Linked DNA regions of Homo sapiens: regions 1 and 3 are each linked to region 2. The links are contacts of gene promoters, found by promoter capture Hi-C in blood cells and fetal thymus (Javierre and others, 2016). All regions are on one chromosome and are shown on one strand. Each heading gives the region's core, a stretch centred on a gene start or on the middle of the fragment in contact. The rest is flanking DNA. Distances are from core to core; before and after follow the strand shown.

Region 1 (2,756 bases), core at 148-2,647, 870 kb before region 2:
CACTGATGAGATTCATTTTTCTGCCTAAACTATTCCCATATTATATCACTGATGAGTTCTGTTTCTCTAGAGTAGAGCAGGAACCTAAAGACATTTGGGGCTGGGCGCAGTGGCTCATGGCTGTAATCCCAGCACTTTGGGAGGCCGAGGCGAGTGGATCACCTGAGGTCGAGAGTTCACCACCAGCCTGGCCAACATGGCAGAACCCCATCTCTACTAAAAATACAAGAATTAGCTGGGTGCAGTGGCGGGTGCCTGTAATCCCAGGTACATGGAGGCTGAGGCAGGAGAATTGCTTGAGCCCGGGAAGCAGAGGATGCAGTGAGCTGAGATCGTGCCACTTACTCCACCCTGGGCAACAGAGTGAGACTCTGTCTCAAAAGAAAAAAAAAATAGACATTTGGGAAGATAATTGAGTGCAGAATCCTCCTAGAGTTTCACATTTTTGTGCTGTTGAGCTGATAGTTATCTTGCCTACGTTGGATTTGACAGTGGTTTTTTTTTTTTATTTTTTCAGTGATTTCCCTTTACATTGACTCCTTTTCCTTTAACTTAGATTTTTTTTTCTTTTTAACGATTGAGAAAAAAACTTTGAAGCTTAGTTTTGATGGACAACTTTATTCTCCTTCCTTCCTTCCTCCTTTCTTCCTTCCTTCCTTTCTTCCCTCCCTCCCTCACTGCGTCCCCCTCTTTTTTCTTTTCTTTTCCTTCTTTTTTCTCTTTCTTTCCTTCTTTCTTTCTTCTTTTTTCTTTCTTTCTTTCTGTCTGTCTTTCTTTCTCTCTCTCTCTTCTTTCTTTCTTTCTCTCTCTCTCTCTTTCTCTTTCTTTCTTTCTTTCTTTCTTTCTTTCTTTCTTTCTTTCTTTCTTTCTTTCTTTCTTTCTTTCTTTCTTCTTTCTTTTTGCTTGCTTGCTTGCTTTCCTTTCAGACAGGGTGTCACTCTGTCATTCAGGCTGGAGTGCAATAGTGCGATCATAGCTTATTACAGCCCCCAATTCTTGGACTCAAGCAGTCCTCCTGCCTCAGCCTCCTGAGTAGCTGGGAACAACAGGTGCGCACCACCTGATGAATTTTTAAATTTTTTACAGAGACAGGGTCTCGCTATGCTGCCCAGGCTGATCTCAAACTCCCAGCTTCAAGTGATTCTCCTACCTTGGCCTCCCAAAGTGCTGGGATTACAAGCATAAGCCACTGTACCTGACATAGACTAAGATTTTAGAAAGTCCTTGTGTGCATGTGTTCAGGATCCTTGAAGAGTGTTGGGGCCAGGTTGGTGGCTCACACCTGTAATCTCAGCACTTTCAGAGGCTGAGGTAGGAGAATCACTAGAGGCCGGGAGTTCAAGACCAGCCTGGGCAACATAGTGAGACCCCATATCTACTAAAAATTTATTTCAAAAATTAGCTGGACATGGTGGCGTGAACCTGTAGTCCCAGCTATTCAGGAGGTTGAGGTAGGAGGATCACTTGAGCCCAAAAGGTTGAAGCTGCAGTGAGCTATGATTGCACCACTGCACTCCAGCCTGGGTGACAAAGTGAGACTCTGTCTCTTAAAAATAAAACAAACAAAAAAAGAGTATAGAGACCATGGAACCCCCAGATGGGAAGGGAGAGTAGAGGGAGCCTGAAATGGGCTTTGAGGCGGGATGCCACCACAGACTGTGTAACTTGGGCAACTGTCTTTTCTGATCTGAACTCAGTCTGCACAGTGAGGTGTGGGAGAGGATATCAGAGCCTGTGATGTCTTCCCCCAGGTGGAGGAAGGGTTCCTCCAGCATGGACTGGAGTCAGTTAACAAATATTAAAAAGCACTCACCGTGTGCCAGGCAGTGGGGAATAAGACCAATGAGCTATGTCACAGTGGGGGAAAACAGGCATTGAATAAATAAGTCAATAAGGGTCATTTCAACGCAAGTGTTCTTGGGAAAACAAAATAGCATAATGTGACAGACAGAGGGTGACTTGGGCAATGTGGAAGCCAGGATGGTGGTAGAAAGGCATTCTAAGGAGGTGACATCTGAATGAGATCTAAATGGTCAGGAGTGGCTGACTTTGTGGAGGCCTAGGAGACAAGCATTTCAGCCAAAGACAGCAGCCAGTGCAAAGGGCTGCAGTGAAATGAGAAGGGAGGAGAGGAGGGGAGAGGAGAGAAGAGGGCTGCCTTGTAGGAGGCTGGGGCTGTAGAGACCAAGGAAGCTTCTGGAATCAGTGACCTGGAAATGCCTCAAAGGATGGTATGAGGGGCCAATTCCACCCACCACTCACTCCTCACCCTCATGTCTTCTTTCTAATTCTCTCCACTCAGGGATCTATTGGATTTCCCGGTCCCCTGGGACCCATAGGAGAGAAAGGGAAGTCGGTGAGTCATGACCGGGGGTAAGGGAGAGGGGAGAACTTGTCTGAGGGGAACAGCATGTGTGGTTGTGTCTGATGATGGGTGGACCCTGGGTGTTTGTGTCTATGCCTGGAACATTTGTGTGCACACATGCTATTATATGCAATGCATGACACATGTAGGTGATTACACATGGTATTATCATGAATATGACTGTAAGCACATGTATATGTGTTTCATGTATCTTTCAATATCGATGAGACAGGGTTTGAATGCCGCAGCCTGCAGGCCTGTGCCTGGGTGAACAAGGGCATGAATCTGCGTGCACTTTGCATGATGGTGGGCATAAATGTGTGCAAGAAGCTTGTACATATGCGTGAAAGGACATGTGTATACACATGTGTGTGTTTCTGTGCACACTGAG
Region 2 (2,912 bases), core at 305-2,804:
CTCACGCCTGTAATCCCAGCACTTTGGGAGGCGGAGGTGGGCAGATCACAAGGTCAGGATATGGAGACCATCCTGGCTAACGCAGTGATACCCGTCTCTACTAAAAATACAAAAAATTAGCCGGCCGTGGTGGCGGGCGTCTGTAGTCCCAGCTACTCAGGAGGCTGAGGCAGGAGAATGGCGTGAACCTGGGAGGCGGAGCTTGCTGTGAGCCGAGATCGTGCCACTGCACTCCAACCTGGGCGACAGAACGAGACACTGTCTCAGGAAAAAAAAAAAAATCTATCTGTAATTCTGAGAGAATAGTAACATGATAAAACCGCATATACCTATCTGGCATTAAAAATAAGTTAATGTCATCACCATAGAACCTACCTGTAGGATTTTCTACTCAAATCACCTTGTTTTCTTCCAGCAACAAATACACTATCCTGAATTCTGTAGTTACCATTTTCTTTGAAAACAGGATGACTGTTATAAAATTCTCTGTAATTTACTTGCAGTCTTGTGGGGGAGAGGAGGTGAGCAGCTTGCTAAACTTCACCTTATCTTCACTTTCCTGTGGTGTTTTTTTTTTTTTTAATGGAGTTTTGCTCCGTTGCCCAGGCTGGAGTATAATGGCATGATCTCAGCTCACTGCAACCTCCGCCCCCTGGGTTCAAGCGATTCTCCTTTCCTGGTTCTTGACACAGCTTTGTATTATTTCTGTTGGCTGGCGTGAAGTCTCTGGGGGTCCAGACAGAGTCTTCCAGCCGTTTTCCTGGTATGTACTTTGTTTTATTTTATTTATTTTTTGTTTTTTCATTACCAAATATTTTTAATAATCAGAACAGCAGAGTGGTGGCACATGCCTGTAATCCCAGCTACTCAGGAGGCTGAGGAAGGAGAATCGCTTGAACCTGGGAGGCGGAGGTTGCAGTGAACCAAGTTTGTGCCACTGCACTCCAGCCTGGGCAACAAGAGCGAAACTCCATCTCAAAAAAAAAAAGATGAGGCTGGGCGTGGTGGCTCACGCCTGTAAACCCAGCATTTTGGGAAGCCAAGTTGGGCAGATCACTTGAGGCCAGGCATTTGAGAGCAGCCTGGCCAACATGGCAAAACCCCGTCTCTACTAAAAATACAAAAATTAGCCAGGTGTTGTGGCAAGCATCTTTAATCCCAGCTACTTGGGAGGCTCAGGCAGGAGAATTGCTTGAAACCAGGAGGCAGAGGTTGCAGTGAGCCAGGATCAAGCCACTGCACTCCAGCCTGGCCACAGAGCAAGACTCTGTCTCAAAAATAAATAAATAAATTTAAAAAATAAATAAATAAAAATAAAAAATGATGACCCCTTAACCATTTCCAGAATTAACAATTATTGATGCTGTGCTGTATTAGCTTCAAGTTTTGTAAAAGCAGTAAAGTAATATCAATACAAAAGGCAACACTTATTTATTTTCTTCCCTTAGAATCTACCCCTTTTCAAGATGGTGTTTGCCTCTGTTGACGTTGCTCCCGCAGTCTAGAAAACACATTTGATTGTCTAATTATCCCATTTTTTGATCATCAAAAACATGGGACCCAGAAACCAAACAGCTGTTTCAGAATTTCTTCTCATGAAAGTGACAGAGGACCCAGAACTGAAGTTAATCCCTTTCAGCCTGTTCCTGTCCATGTACCTGGTCACCATCCTGGGGAACCTGCTCATTCTCCTGGCTGTCATCTCTGACTCCCACCTCCACACCCCCATGTACTTCCTTCTCTTTAATCTCTCCTTTACTGACATCTGTTTAACCACAACCACAGTCCCAAAGATCCTAGTGAACATCCAAGCTCAGAATCAGAGTATCACTTACACAGGCTGCCTCACCCAGATCTGTCTTGTCTTGGTTTTTGCTGGCTTGGAAAGTTGCTTTCTTGCAGTCATGGCCTACGACCGCTATGTGGCCATTTGCCACCCACTGAGGTACACAGTCCTCATGAATGTCCATTTCTGGGGCTTGCTGATTCTTCTCTCCATGTTCATGAGCACTATGGATGCCCTGGTTCAGAGTCTGATGGTATTGCAGCTGTCCTTCTGCAAAAACGTTGAAATCCCTTTGTTCTTCTGTGAAGTCGTTCAGGTCATCAAGCTCGCCTGTTCTGACACCCTCATCAACAACATCCTCATATATTTTGCAAGTAGTGTATTTGGTGCAATTCCTCTCTCTGGAATAATTTTCTCTTATTCTCAAATAGTCACCTCTGTTCTGAGAATGCCATCAGCAAGAGGAAAGTATAAAGCGTTTTCCACCTGTGGCTGTCACCTCTCTGTTTTTTCCTTGTTCTATGGGACAGCTTTTGGGGTGTACATTAGTTCTGCTGTTGCTGAGTCTTCCCGAATTACTGCTGTGGCTTCAGTGATGTACACTGTGGTCCCTCAAATGATGAACCCCTTCATCTACAGCCTGAGAAATAAGGAGATGAAGAAAGCTTTGAGGAAACTTATTGGTAGGCTGTTTCCTTTTTAGCGATCTTTGTCCTCTGCTTTGAATTGGAGCTTCTAAAATAAATCATCATAACAGGATTCCTTGGTAAGCCAGAGTGCCTGACTCTTGCATCGAGATTTACTTTTTTTTTTTTTTTTCGAGGCAGAATCTCGCTCTGTCGCCCAGGCTGGAGTACAGTGGCACGATCTCGGCTCACTGCAAACTCCGCCTCCCGGGTTCATGCAATTCTCCTGCCTCGGCCTCCCGAGTAGCTGGGATTACAGGCACACACCACCACACCTGGATTTTTTTTGTATTTTTAGTAGAGATGGGGTTTCACCAGGTTGGCCAGGGTGGTCTCGAACTCCTGACTTCAGGTAATCCACCCACCTCGGCCTCCCAAAGTGCTGGGATTACAGGCATGAGCCACTATGCCTGACCTACTTTCTTTTTTGTGATCTTTGT
Region 3 (2,738 bases), core at 111-2,610, 600 kb before region 2:
TGTTAATGCCTCTGGTCTCAAACGCAGATACAGAATTACCAGGAAAGAAGCTAAAAATATTATCCAGTGATGCCCAACTTGCCAAATGGTACATTCCTCATCTTTTACAGGAGGAGTTATTCCTTGAGGATTGGAACCTAACTCTTTTTGGCAAATGGATGTCACACATGTTCCTTCGTTTGGGAGACTAGCTTATATATGTGTATGTGTGGACACCTTTTCTCACTTTATATGGGCTACATGCTAATCAGGAGAGTGTTTGGCCTGTCTGAAACATCATCTTTTGCAGTGTTTTGTGGTGATGGGCATTCCAGCTTCTATTAAAACAGATAATGCCCCAGGATATACTAGCCAATCTCTAGCTACATTTTTCTCTATGTGGAGTATTAAACACATTACTGGTATCCCATACAATTCTCAAAGACAAGCCATAGTGGAAAGAATGAATCTCTCCCTAAAACAGCAGTTGCAAAAGCAGAAAAGGGGAGACGGAGAATATGGAACCACACAGATACAACTGAATCTAACATTATTAACATTAAATTTTTTGAACCTGCCCAAAGGCCAGATGTTATCAGCAGCTGAACAGCATCTACAGAAACCAGCTGCAAAGACAGAAACAGAACAACTGATTTGGTGGAGAGATCCAATAATAAAAAGATGGGAAATAGGTAAAATAATAACTTAGGGTAGAGGTTATGCTTGTGTTTCTCCAGGCCAAAATCAACAGCCAATTTGGATACCATCAAGACACCTGAAACCTTATCATGAGCCAGATGCCGAGGAAGAGACTCCGGGAGGATCCCAAGGACCCCCCAGTTGCAGCCATGTCAAGACTGATGCTGAGGAGGACCCCAACTGTCACGAGTAACACCCGTTGAACACAGCCACCCACCTGGGGACAGATCAAGAAGCTGTCACAGATGGTGGAAGAAAAACTGAGGAAAGTGGGACAACCAGTCACAATGAATAATTTAATGGTAGCTATCATAGTGGTTATCACCACTGCTGTGAGTATTCCTTCAATAAGAGCTGACACAGAGAACAATTATACTTATTGGGCATATTGATCAATCTTGGCTGGCAATAATGCCTGGATGCAATCACTCTATGACCCAGTTACACATGCTTTCTGATCTCAGTATTTACCATAATAAATCTGCTCCTATAATTGAGGCATACCACCCTCAAAAACCTATTTGTAAACAGGATTGGACCCAGTTAGAAAAAATGAATGTGCTTGTTTAGGAAAATTGCATTGCAGAACAGGTAGAGGTGCTACACAATGATTCCTATGGAATCTTTATTGATTGGTCCCCTAAGGGGATGTTTAGCTTGAATTGCACCTCTCAGTCTGCATGCCCCAGCCACACTATGTTCAGCTGGTCTGAACAAAATGGTCAGATGGTAGAAATGATAAGAAGTACAACAAGAGTTCCTATTATCTGGAACCATAGCAGTATAGTGGCACTTCAACCTCAAATGATATGGCTCATTGTAGGAGCTAAACATTAAGGATTTGTGGAAACTATTAATAGCTCTTAATAAGATCACAATTTTGGAAAGAATAAAAAAGTATCTAAAAGGACACTCTACAGACTTGTTTTTGGATATTGCAAAATTAAAAGAACAGATTTTAAAACATCCCAGGCACACCTGACCTTAATGCCAGGAACTGGGGTGCTTAAAGGAGCTGCAGACAAATTAGCAGCTAGTAACCCATTAAAATGGATAAAAACACTTGGAAGCTCTGTAATTTCAATGATGATTGTGCTTTTAATCCATGTTATTTATCTTTGTATAGTCTTCAGATGCAGATCCTGACTCCTATGAGAAGTAGCTCACCATGACAAAGCTCCTTTGCTTTTATCAATCTGCAAATCAAAGAAGGGGGACATGTTGGGAGCAGGCCTCCCAAAATCTGGCCATAAACTGGCTCCAAAACTGGCTATAAACAAAATCTCTGCAGCACAGTAACATGTTCATAATGGCCCCAATGCCCGCTCTGGAAGGTTGGGGGTTTACCGGAATGAGGGCAAGGAATACCTGACCCGCCCAGGGTGGAAAACTGCTTAAAGGCATTCTTAAGCCACAAACAATATCATGAGTGATCTGTGCCTTAAGGACATGCTTCTGCTGCAGTTAACTAGCCCAACCTATTCCTTTAATTTGGCCCATCCCTTCATTTCCCATAAGGGATACTTTTAGTTAATTTAACATCTATAGAAACAATGCTAATGACTGGTTTGCTGTTAATAAATACGTGGGTAAATCTCTGTTTGGGGCTCTCAGCTCTGAAGGCTGTGAGACCCCTGATTTCCCACTTCACACCTCTATATTTCTGTGTGTGTGTCTTCAATTCTTCTAGCGCTACTGGGTTAGGGTCTCCCTGACCGATCTGGTCTCAGCATTCTCTCCCTCACACTCAGTCTCTTCCTCTTTCTCACTTGGGACATTGTCTTTTAAAGTGACCTATTTTTTCACATTTGAAACAATTTTTCTGTCTTTTTTTTTTCTTCCTTTGAGTCTCCTGGCTTTACTCTTTCATACATTTTATATCACCTGGACAGTGGTGGTCTAGGTTCTTTATATGTCTGGCTCCCTTGGTACTTTGTTGTATGGTGGACAGCAAGATTTTTGCCTTTTGCTTTTGTTTTTCTTTTTCTCTTCTTACATATACTGTTTGGGATTTTTTTTTTTTTGAGACAGAGTTTCACTCGTTGCCTGGGCTGGAGTGC

The links. Contacts are between HindIII fragments. The CHiCAGO score rates a contact against its expected background, and 5 or more counts as called.
Region 1: a contact is called between a fragment that was not itself captured here and the fragment with the promoter of OR7G1 in region 2, in 1 of 17 cell types (fetal thymus). The highest score is 5.3, in fetal thymus.
Region 3: a contact is called between a fragment that was not itself captured here and the fragment with the promoter of OR7G1 in region 2, in 2 of 17 cell types (erythroblasts and fetal thymus). The highest score is 6.0, in erythroblasts.

The regions. Positions count from the first base shown.
Region 1 is chr19:9,981,665-9,984,420 of GRCh38, reverse strand. It overlaps COL5A3 (collagen type V alpha 3 chain), which reads left to right. Exons shown (of 67, transcript NM_015719.4): 32 at 2,303-2,356. Among named protein-coding and RNA genes, the nearest start is that of COL5A3, 27 kb to the left of the region's middle. The HindIII fragment of the contact is 1,596 bases long and covers 600-2,195 here.
Region 2 is chr19:9,114,405-9,117,316 of GRCh38, reverse strand. OR7G1 (olfactory receptor family 7 subfamily G member 1) reads left to right here and starts at 1,554. Exons shown (of 1, transcript NM_001005192.2): 1 at 1,554-2,489. The coding sequence starts at 1,554. The coding sequence ends at 2,489. The HindIII fragment of the contact is 3,860 bases long and covers 1-2,453 here.
Region 3 is chr19:9,711,181-9,713,918 of GRCh38, reverse strand. The region is part of intron 1 of LOC105372270 (a long non-coding RNA gene); the gene reads right to left. Among named protein-coding and RNA genes, the nearest start is that of ZNF562, 37 kb to the right of the region's middle. The HindIII fragment of the contact is 3,459 bases long and covers 1-2,738 here.